3 separate regions of the Homo sapiens genome follow, and regions 1 and 3 are each linked to region 2. Evidence: promoter capture Hi-C in 16 types of primary human blood cells and fetal thymus (Javierre and others, 2016). All regions are on one chromosome and are shown on one strand. The core of a region is centred on a gene start or on the middle of the fragment in contact, and the rest is flanking DNA. Distances in the headings are between cores, read along the strand shown.

What was found. Contacts are between HindIII fragments. The CHiCAGO score rates a contact against its expected background, and 5 or more counts as called.
Region 1: a contact is called between a fragment that was not itself captured here and the fragment with the promoter of CD79A in region 2, in 1 of 17 cell types (non-activated CD4 T cells). The highest score is 5.3, in non-activated CD4 T cells.
Region 3: a fragment that was not itself captured here is called in contact with the fragment with the promoter of CD79A in region 2 in 1 of 17 cell types (total B cells); the score reaches 5.5 in total B cells.

What each region holds. Positions count from the first base shown.
Region 1 is chr19:40,611,661-40,615,249 of GRCh38, forward strand. It overlaps LTBP4 (latent transforming growth factor beta binding protein 4), which reads left to right. Exons shown (of 30, transcript NM_001042545.2): 14 at 199-324; 15 at 413-532; 16 at 1,405-1,536; 17 at 1,744-1,869; 18 at 2,256-2,378; 19 at 2,655-2,786. Among named protein-coding and RNA genes, the nearest start is that of LTBP4, 12 kb to the left of the region's middle. RefSeq lists enhancers at 2,245-2,792, 3,014-3,293. The HindIII fragment of the contact is 5,733 bases long and covers 1-3,589 here.
Region 2 is chr19:41,875,323-41,879,248 of GRCh38, forward strand. It overlaps CD79A (CD79a molecule), which reads left to right and starts at 1,957. Exons shown (of 5, transcript NM_001783.4): 1 at 1,957-2,061; 2 at 3,668-3,926. The coding sequence starts at 1,983. RefSeq lists an enhancer at 622-691 and a silencer at 2,099-2,158. The HindIII fragment of the contact is 1,040 bases long and covers 1,393-2,432 here.
Region 3 is chr19:40,189,748-40,193,260 of GRCh38, forward strand. It overlaps MAP3K10 (mitogen-activated protein kinase kinase kinase 10), which reads left to right and starts at 1,679. Exons shown (of 10, transcript NM_002446.4): 1 at 1,679-2,966. The coding sequence starts at 2,285. RefSeq lists an enhancer at 907-1,146 and silencers at 1,307-1,806, 2,077-2,376. The HindIII fragment of the contact is 3,270 bases long and covers 374-3,513 here.

The DNA of each region.
Region 1 (3,589 bases), core at 389-2,888, 1.3 Mb before region 2:
TGCCTTAGCCCCCACCTTAGTAGCTGGAGAGACCATTGAATGGGGACACGAGGAAGGTGTCTGTCTTCCTGGGAAGAGGGAGCAGCCTGAGGCAAGTCCAGAAGGCAGGCTCAAGACTGGAATGCTGGGGTGGGTGGTGATGGCCATGGGAATGGATTCAGGCCCCTTCCTCAGCCTCATTGGTCCCCTCTGCCCCAGATGTGGATGAGTGTGCCCGAAGCCCCCCACCCTGCACCTACGGCCGGTGTGAGAACACAGAAGGCAGCTTCCAGTGTGTCTGCCCCATGGGCTTCCAACCCAACACTGCTGGCTCCGAGTGCGAGGGTGAGGCCGGGGAGGGAGGGAGGAGTGTGGATGGGTGAGGGGGGAGTTGGACCACTTCTTCAAGGCCACCCTCTCCCCTGCCCCCCAGATGTGGATGAGTGTGAGAACCACCTCGCATGCCCTGGGCAGGAGTGTGTGAACTCGCCCGGCTCCTTCCAGTGCAGGACCTGTCCTTCTGGCCACCACCTGCACCGTGGCAGATGCACTGGTGAGACCAGGCCCTGGCTGTGACCTTGGGCCTGCATCATGACCCCCGACCCTTGACCCAGATCACAACTATGACCTGGCCGTAACCTCCTGACCTGGACCTCAGTCCCTCAGTCCCCAGAGCCTGTGACTCCTGACCCTGACCTGGACCACAACTCTTGACCCTGAATGTGACTCCTGAGACCCAACTTGACAGTAACATTTGACCCTAACCATCACCCTTGATGATAGTCCCTGCCCATACCCTGATAGCAATTGTGACCCTCATGACTCTGGCCCTGAATGTGACCTATAACTCCTGAATTTGACTGTGACATTTGACCCTAATCATAACCACTAACCATAGCACTGACCATAACCTTGACTGTGTGACTCTTGGTCCTATCTCTTTCACAGCCCCTGCCTCTTCTCAGAATCCCTTCTCTGGAACCTGGTTGGGTTCATAATCCCTGACCCTGGCCCCTGACTTGAGGCAGAATTCTGGACCCTGACTATAACTTCTGATCCTAACTGGATTCAGATTCCAGTCACTAACTCTGACCCATGGCTCAGCCGAATCCCATCCAATGATCCTAGTTTATAATACTTGACTGGTCCCTTGCCCTAGTTGATTTCTGATCCCTGTCTGATCCCTCTCCTGACTCCAAAATCCTGGCACAGGTAGTTCCTAGAAACCTAGACCCACAGGACTTGCAACCATGGTCCCCGGAACCCGAGAACCTTGGTCAGCCCTACCCACCTCTGCCATAGAGCCCTCCCCCAGCCTCCAACTCATGAGACTTCCCACCACCTCCCCCAGACACCCTACTCCAAGGGGATTGGTCGGGTGTGTCCCGAGACTGGACCCTTTCTGAACACCCCCACCCCCCACAGATGTGGACGAATGCAGTTCGGGTGCCCCTCCCTGTGGTCCCCACGGCCACTGCACTAACACCGAAGGCTCCTTCCGCTGCAGCTGCGCGCCAGGCTACCGGGCGCCGTCGGGTCGGCCCGGGCCCTGCGCAGGTGAGCAGCATAGGGACCCGCCAGAGAGTCTGGGAGTAGGGCCTGGGTTCCAGGGCAAAGCCGGCTGGAAAGGTGGAGGCGGGACCAAGGCGCTGTGGGAGGAGCTTAGAAACCTGGCATTGGTGGGGGCGGGGTTACTGCGATGTGGGCGGAGCTTGTCTGGGAGGCCGGGTCCCGTGACTCCGCCCAATCTCCCGCGTACCCTAGACGTGAACGAGTGCCTGGAGGGCGATTTCTGCTTCCCTCACGGCGAGTGCCTCAACACTGACGGCTCCTTTGCCTGTACTTGTGCCCCTGGCTACCGACCCGGACCCCGCGGAGCCTCTTGCCTCGGTTCGTACCCGGGCTGATCCTGGCCCCGGAAAGGGTGGGCTTAGGGCAGGAAAAGGCGGGACGGGGAGAAGAGGGCGAAAAGGGGAAAACGAGTTTTTAGCCGGGGTATTCCAGCAGGATCAGGGGGCAGCTGGTGGGAGTCTCGAGGCAGTGAGGGGGGGCGGGGCGTGGAGATGAAAGGGCCGAGTCTGGGTATTTGGACCGTGATTGTAAAGAAGCTGTTCTAAACCCGTCGGGGGGCGGTGTTTGCAGGGAGGGAAGTAGCGTGAGGCAGGTTGGGGAAGGCGTGAGAGGCCTAGGAGAGCCGAGGGGCGGTGGAGGGGTGTGGCCTAGAATGTTAGGCGGAGCGGGAGGTGGGCCGGGCCTTCGGACGCCCTGTCCCGCAGACGTTGACGAGTGCAGCGAGGAGGACCTTTGCCAGAGCGGCATCTGTACCAACACCGACGGCTCCTTCGAGTGCATCTGTCCTCCGGGACACCGCGCTGGCCCGGACCTCGCCTCCTGCCTCGGTGAGAGGCCCCGCCCCGGCCTGATCCCTCCTCCCTTCGACTCCCCGACTCGCCGATTGGCCTCCCACCTCTGTCTTTCCTCCTCCGCTTCTCCCCTCCCCTTACCTCTTTCCCCCGCCTCCTCTCCTAGCCTCCCCAACTCTCCTCTACCCCAATCTTCTCCTGCCCTCTCCTCTGCTTCCCCGGCCTCCCCCTTCTGACTCTCCTCTCCCCTCTTTGTATCCCCCATCTTGCCTCCCTGCTTCCCACATCCGACCACCCGACCTCTCTCCTCAGACGTGGACGAATGTCGCGAGCGAGGCCCAGCCCTGTGCGGGTCGCAGCGCTGTGAGAACTCTCCCGGCTCCTACCGCTGTGTCCGGGACTGCGATCCTGGGTACCACGCGGGCCCCGAGGGCACCTGTGACGGTGAGCCTGCCCCCACCCGCCTTCGCTAGCGCTTGCAACGCGGTGCTGGAGGCTGCTCCCTTGGGGACTGAGGAGGGGCGCCCTGCTTCCCAGACTTAGGCGGAGGGAAAGAACACCCTCTCACCGTATCTCTGTAGTGGAAATAAGCCGCCACCGTGTCCATGTATTTTCTTGTGTCAGGATCACGGCCAAGCCTCCCTTCCAGCCGCAGTCCATTCCCCCTCTGCAGCTGAAGCCCGGTCCACATTTTAGGCTATGCCCCCAGTAAGACACCGCCCCAAAACTGTTAGGCCCCGCCCCTTCCAATCGGCCTCTGGATTAAAACCCCCTCTTCAGGCCCCTTCTCTTCCTAACAGAAGTTTGGACGTGCCCTTTCCGCGCCCTCCACCAGTCCTACTTCCAGCCTTCCCTCCAAAGAGGCCCAATCCCGGTGGCCCTAGGCCCCATTCTTTCCCAATGAGAAATTCCCAAGGTGAAATTCTCCTAGCATTGGCCCCCGCCCGTTTAAGCTCTGCCCTTCCTTGGTCTCTCTAGACAGGGCTTTCCATTCGCTCGGATGGCTCCAGTCTCTCGAACACTTAGGCCCTCCCTTCCTATCTTTGCTCCGCCCACAGACCCGCCCCTTGCCTTTTCTTACTTTCCAGGCCTTCCCTCCCGCCCCGCTCTTTCACCCCTCCCGGGTCAGGCTCCAGCGAGGCAGGAGGGTGGGGCTAATCTTCCATACAGTATATATTTTTTTGTGTCGGCGGGGGGGGGGGGGCGGTGATGGTGTGTGAGTCCGCATCTTGTGGAACACATGAAAC
Region 2 (3,926 bases), core at 707-3,206:
CCTGTAATCCCAGCTACTGAGGAGGCTGAGGCAGGAGAATCACTTGAACCTGGGAGGCAGAGGTTGCAGTGAGCCAAGATCACGCCACTGCACTTCAGCCTGGGTGACAAAGCGAGACTCCGTCTCAAAAAAAAAAAAAAAAAAAGTAACACAGGAAATAAAACCAAGACAAGATGAGCTCTCTGTGTCTCTGTGTGTCCCTCCCCAGACCCAACCCTGGCGTCCCCCAGAGGTAACCCCTCCCAGGAACTGGGCGTTTGCCACTCCCCTGCACGGGTCTACACCTCTGCTACAAACGTGTGTCCCTAAGCAGCGGACGCCTTTTGAAAACAAGTCAACTGTATCATGCTACGATATTTTTTCTGATGTTTGTGCTGTTTCTGAGACAGCCTTATGACACCTTCCCCTATTCTGTAGCATTCTGTTGGCTCACTTTGCCACAGTGTATGCACCCATTCTCCCACAAATGGACTTTTCATTTGCTTCTCAATGTTTGCTACCAAAAATCTCCCTGCAATAAATTTATTTTATATATCCCCTTGTATGTGTGTGAGGGTCCCCTAACTGCTCACAAATATCTCAGCAACTCCGCCCTCCCCACTCAGACCTCATTTCCCTCCTACCAGACATGCTCAAAGGAAACTGGGAGCAACACAAAGATGACTTTGAATCTCTGTCCACCACCCCTAGACTGTATGACACCCGCAAGTGACAACCTCCCCTCTCTGGCCTCGGTTTCCCCCTCTGTAAAATGGGGGATGGCCTACCTTGCCAGTCATGGCAGGTCAATATAAAACAACTTCTGGCTGTGCACAGTGGCACATGCCTGTAATCCCAGCACTTTGGGAAGCTGAGGCAGGAGGATTGCTTGAGGCCAGGAGTTCAAGACCAGCCTGGGCAATATAGCAAGATCCCATCCCTCTTAAAAAAAAAAAAGAAGAAAAATATATGTTGTTGTTGTTATTATTGTTATTATTAGAGACAGAGTTTCGCTTTTGTCACCCAGGCTGGAGTGCAATGGTGTGATCTCAGCTCACTGCAACCTCCACCTCCTGGGTTCAACTGATTCTCCTGCCTCAGCCTCCTGAGTAGCTGGAATAATAGGCATGTGCCACAACATCTGGCTAATTTTGTATTTTTAGTAGAGATGGGGTTTCGCCATGTTGGCCAGGCTGGTCTCAAACTCGACCTCAGGTGATTCTCCTGTCTCAGCCTCCCAAAGGGCTGGGATTACAGGCATAAGCCACCATAGCTGGCCTGTTTTTTTAAAAAAAGAATTCCAGTAAAGAGCTGATCATGGTTCTCACTCCTTGAATACCAGGAACACCATCTCGTATCACATAATGAGACAGGGAGACATTCTGGTCCTCATCTCACAGATGAAAAATGTCAAGCTTCGAAGGATCAAAGTGCCCACCTAGTCACACGGGTAGTCAGCCACAGGTCAGCCTGCCTTATTTATTCTTCATGAGTATTTATAGTGACTAACATTTACTGGGCGCCTACTGTGGGCCATTTCTGTGCATGTGACAACCCCTTTAAGTCCTTGTTTCTAATCCCAAGAAGCAAGGAAATGGGGTCAGGGAAGGGACAAGGTTTGCCCAAGTCCAGGCAGGGGGAGAGGTCAAGCTCAGAACCATCACCTGCCCATGACACATGCCCAGGACTCAGGTTCCCTAGGCTTCCTTCCAAAGGCTCAGCAGTGACGAGCCAGCCCTTGAACCAGCCTCTTCCCCCACCCAAGCAGCCACCTCTCAGGGGAATTGTGGCCACCACAGGTGCAGGGAGCAGTTTCTCTCCACTCACAGCCTGAAGCATACCCGGCAGGGGCTGTCCCCAGGCCCAACAAGCAAAGGGCCCAGTAGCGAGGGCCACTGGAGCCCATCTCCGGGGGGCTGGGCAGGAAGTAGGGTGGGGTTTGGGGTAGGGATCTGGTACCCTGGGACTGCTGCAACTCAAACTAACCAACCCACTGGGAGAAGATGCCTGGGGGTCCAGGAGTCCTCCAAGCTCTGCCTGCCACCATCTTCCTCCTCTTCCTGCTGTCTGCTGTCTACCTGGGTATGTGGCCAAAGGGCAGGAACTGGCGGGAGGTGGGGGAAGCTGTGGAGGCTGCAGAGAGGGCACAGGCAGAGGGAAGGGGGCTCAGGGAAAGGGGAAGAGGAGGCAGAGGATAGGGGACCCAGGGAAGATGCCTATAGAAATCGTATCTGTGCCAAGATGGGCCAAGGTGGGGCTGGAGGGAGCCCAGCGAAGGAGAAGGGGCGTCCACAGTCTCACACAGGGAGGCAGGAGCAAGAGTCACCTCCCCCACCTCCTGTTCCCCACAGGCCAAAATAAGGAACTAAAGTTGCTCTTGACTGAGCACCAGGGCTGGGGGCAGGAAGGGGACTTAGGGGTAGCAGCATTCAGCGTCTGTCAAGGGGAGAAAAAGCTTTCTCTGCCTTAAACCTCAGGTGCCTCTCTCTGTTGGGAGTCCCTTCTCAGCACTGGGGGAATGGGTGTCTCATGGACTCCCCCTCACCTGCTCAAGGACAGCTGGCAGGGGCTGTGGCCACGCTAACCCAGGAGTTCAGAGAAAAAGGTTCCCCACCCAAGGGGACACTGGGAGCAAGGATTGGAGTTCACGTCTGAGTCTTAAGCCCGTGACGATGAGGGTGCTCGGCCCCTCTCCCCATCTCTTCCTCCTTCTCTCTTCCTCACCTCCCTCCTCCACCTACCTCCAGAAGAGGGGACTGGCCATGTGGGAGGCCTGGCTGAGAGCTGGGGCTTCCCAGAGGAGCCCGGATTGGACACTGCAGCCAGCCTGAGCCGCCTCGTCTCACTCAGAGACACCCCCAGTCTCCACCCCGCTCTGAGCCCCTTCAATCACCAGCAGCCCAGCCCAAGGACTGAACTCACCCCTGACCCCTAGGTTGACACATACAACTTACAGAGAATGAGGGCCAGGCACAGGGTCACAGGCCAGGGCAGGCCACAGACTGGCTCCTCAGCCCAGGCAGGGAGAGGCCAGGGAGCCAAGAGTTTGAACCCAGTGCCACTCCTGACTGCCTGGTGATGCTGGCAACCCGCCTGCCCTCCCAGAGCCTCAGCCATCCCTCCTGTAAAATGGGGCTAAGGAGAGAACCTACTTCTAGGGTTCTGTGAATGATTACACAAGAAAAAGCGCCAGGTGCTGGGCCTGGCTGAGGCTGGGGTGCAAAAATGGACCGGGAAGGCTGCGGGAGGAGGGGACGCCTGCACTGCTTCTGGAAGGAGCTGTCTGGACAGCGGTCCTCCAGTGCCTGGAACAAACATCCAAAATCCAGAGAGTTCACAGGGCCAGAGTACAAAGTGGGTATGCGGGAGGGGGGCAAGAGATGGCGCTGCAGAGGTGAGAAGGGCCTCCCAGGGGTCTTACCATCCCAGGGAGTCTCATTCTCCTCTCCCAGGATATCCTCACCCACCCCAACCAGGTATGTCCTCTCTCCTTCCCAGGGGCTTCTTCACTTTCCCGCATCCCCCCTCTCCCCAGGATGTATCAGCCCCTGTCAGGGGCTCTCTCTCTCCCTCCCCACCCAGGAGAGTCCTCACCCTCTTCCCAGGAGTGCTGGAACTGCAGGGGCCAGGGCTGGGGAAATGTGTCACCATCCCCAGTCCCTGACCCACCCACCCTGTCTCTCCACAGGCCCTGGGTGCCAGGCCCTGTGGATGCACAAGGTCCCAGCATCATTGATGGTGAGCCTGGGGGAAGACGCCCACTTCCAATGCCCGCACAATAGCAGCAACAACGCCAACGTCACCTGGTGGCGCGTCCTCCATGGCAACTACACGTGGCCCCCTGAGTTCTTGGGCCCGGGCGAGGACCCCAATGGTACGCTGATCATCCAGAATGTGAACAAGAGCCATGGGGGCATATACGTGTGCCGGGTCCAGGAGGGCAACGA
Region 3 (3,513 bases), core at 759-3,258, 1.7 Mb before region 2:
TGAGCAATCTGTCTCTAACTCTATTTTTTCCATGAAGTCTTGTTAATTTTAGTGCACCGTTTTGAAGAACTGAAGGTTTTTTAAGAATGCATATAGCAGGTTATAGCAGAAACACTTATACTCAGAATGAAGCTGGGGCTCTCTCTTCCAACAAGCATTTTTGATATGCTCCGAGTGTCCCTGCTAGGTAGCCAGGAGACCAGGTAACCCACTTCCCTCTGACAATGGAACAATTCCCCAAGGACCCTGAGGGGCAGTTCTCTGGAGTTTGGGCACTAGAGTCCCTCTTATTTCCTCTTCTTCTCTCCTCCCTCTAGACCCCATACCACTCAGGAGAGGCCAAGTAAAAAGACCCAGAATTTTGCCTCTTACAAGCTTAGAGATCTTGAAGAAGTCACTGAACCTCTGCGGGACCTACTTTCCTCATTCTTTAAATAGAAAGGCAGTGGGTTTTTTGTTTGTTTGTTTTTTGTTGTTTTTTTTTTTGTTGTTGTTGTTTTTGTTAATCGTGGCGATGGTTATTTATTTATTTATTTATTTTGAGACGGAGTCTTGCCCTGTCGTCCAGGCTGGAGTGCTGTGGCGTGATCTTGGCTCACTGCAACCTCCACCTCCCAGGTTCAAGCGATTCTCCTGCCTCAGCCTCCCGAGTAGCTGGGATAGATTACAGGCGCACACCACCACGCCCGGCTAATTTTTTTTTTTTTTTTTAAATAGTAGAGACGGGGGTTTCACCATGCTGGCCAGGCTGGTCACGAACTCCTGGCCTCGTGATCCGCCCGCCTTGGCCTCCCATAGCGCTGAGATTACAGGCGTGAGCCACCGCGCCCGGCCTGGTTGTTAATTTTTAAAACTGCCTTTCATTTTTGCTTTGCCATTTATAGCTCTGTAGCCTTGCACAAATGACTTCACTTCTCTATGAGTCATCTGTAAAATGGGGCTCTTTGTGAAGACTTAACGATACCACGTGTACAAAGCACTGAATACAACATGCACATTAAGCTCCCCGAAATTGAAACTCCTATAAAATAGGAATCGGGGATTCTCAAGAGCAGGAGTTCTGACTTCAGCAGAGGAACCCAGAGCTGGTGGGGAAAGCAGACGTGGCTGTGACATCCCCAGGGACACTAAACACATCCTCCCAGCCCCATCTTCCCCGCAGAGTCCCGCCACCGGCCCGACCCCTAACTTGCTCCAACCACCCGCCGACGCCCGCAGCCCGCTGTTTGGGGGCCGCCCCCTGCAGCGCCAGGTCCCCGCGCGGACTACAGTTCCCAGCGTACATCTCGGTCGGGGGGTCCGAGGGGCCGTCCTGCCTCAGGGATAAGGTCCAGGCTGCGTTCGCGGCTCCGGGCAGTCACAGTCATGCACGCAGCTCCTATTTTTCGCGTTGCTAATCGCGTCCGTTGCAGTCCAACCCATCCTGGGCCGCGGCCCCCACAGGGTCTGTGAGGAGCGCTTCCCCCCGCCCCGGGCGCCCGCTACGCCGCGTCCGAAGGAGGGGCCGAGGCCGGGCTCATCTCCCCGGGAGGACTCCTTCGGCTTCGTGGGGTGTCATGTCCATTGCGGCCCGAGGCTGGCCGCGGGGCTCTGCTGGAGGGCGCTGAGAGCCGGGCCCCGAGGCCGCACGGCCGGAGACTACAACTCCCAGGAGGCACCGCGGCGGCGGCGCCCACACGTCACTCGGGCCCCGCCGGTGGCCCGGGGAAGCAGCACGGGCGGGGGGCAGGGGCTGGGGCCGACCGGGAGGCCGGTGCCAAGGATGGGGGCCGCCCGGCTGCCCCGCGCGTGAGGAGGCCGAGGGGCGCGCCACCCCGGCCCGGGGCGGCCGCCCCAGGGGCCCCGCCACCCCCGCCCGGCCCGGCAGTCGTGGCCCGGGATGCGGAGCCGGGGGCCGCCGGTGGAGCTGCGCGGGGTGAGCGGCGCGGGGAACGGGGACTGCCTGCCGCCCTCGCCCTCGTCCCCCACCGGCGGACCCCGGCGGGCATTCGAGAGCCGCGCGGCCAGGCCCTCTTAGCCCTCTGCCGTTTGGGGGGCACGGGTGAACCTGCCGCCCCACTCCCACCCCGCCCCGCCCCGCCCGTACAGCCAAATCGGAAGGGACGAGCCTGCCCTTTGAAAGGGTTTTTTTTCTTGCTCCTGCGGAGGGCGCCCCAGCCATGGCCCTCAGGAGCTCCCTAGACCCCGCAGGGACTGCCCTCCATCCCGGCCGCCGGGGCCCGCCCTCTGCATCCCGCGGGCAGCCTGTGTGAAGCGGCCTCCCGCAGCCCCCGGCCCCTCCCCCATGGAGGAGGAGGAGGGGGCGGTGGCCAAGGAGTGGGGCACGACCCCCGCGGGGCCCGTCTGGACCGCGGTGTTCGACTACGAGGCGGCGGGCGACGAGGAGCTGACCCTGCGGAGGGGCGATCGCGTCCAGGTGCTTTCCCAAGACTGTGCGGTGTCCGGCGACGAGGGCTGGTGGACCGGGCAGCTCCCCAGCGGCCGCGTGGGCGTCTTCCCCAGCAACTACGTGGCCCCCGGCGCCCCCGCTGCACCCGCGGGCCTCCAGCTGCCCCAGGAGATCCCCTTCCACGAGCTGCAGCTAGAGGAGATCATCGGTGTGGGGGGCTTTGGCAAGGTCTATCGGGCCCTGTGGCGTGGCGAGGAGGTGGCAGTCAAGGCCGCCCGGCTGGACCCTGAGAAGGACCCGGCAGTGACAGCGGAGCAGGTGTGCCAGGAAGCCCGGCTCTTTGGAGCCCTGCAGCACCCCAACATAATTGCCCTTAGGGGCGCCTGCCTCAACCCCCCACACCTCTGCCTAGTGATGGAGTATGCCCGGGGTGGTGCACTGAGCAGGGTGCTGGCAGGTCGCCGGGTGCCACCTCACGTGCTGGTCAACTGGGCTGTGCAGGTGGCCCGGGGCATGAACTACCTACACAATGATGCCCCTGTGCCCATCATCCACCGGGACCTCAAGTCCATCAACAGTAAGTGGTGTCCTCTCCCCAAAATTCCTTCCACAGAACCTCTCAAGGCCAGGCCTAGGTGGTGGGAAACAGGGTGAGGGACACCAGATGACACTGTGCCTGGAGTGAGAAGGGGCAGCAGTATGATACCTTCAGGGTGAAGGTGAGGTAGGCCTTGCCTGCCTTAAGGGAGAAAAAGGAGGCTCAGAAAGGTTGAAGGACTTACCTGCCTCCCAGGCTGCAGAGTCACAATCGCTCAGTAAACATGTATCCATGAACACCTGCGTTCCCTGCATGAACAGGACAGATGCAGTGCCTGCCTTCAAGGTGCTTGCCATCCAGCCATGCTGCCAGAGTCCACCAGGCAGAGACAAAAAGAGCCTACCCCGTCTGGAGTCAGTGTCTCTCAACCCCAGCACTATTGGCACTTGAGGCCAGATCATTGTTGTAGGGGCTGTCCTGTAAATTGTGAGTTGCTTAGCGGCATCTTTAGCCTCTTCCCACTAGATGTCATTAGCATTCCCTGCCCCCTCTCCCCAGCTATGACAACCAAAAGTGTCTCCAGGCA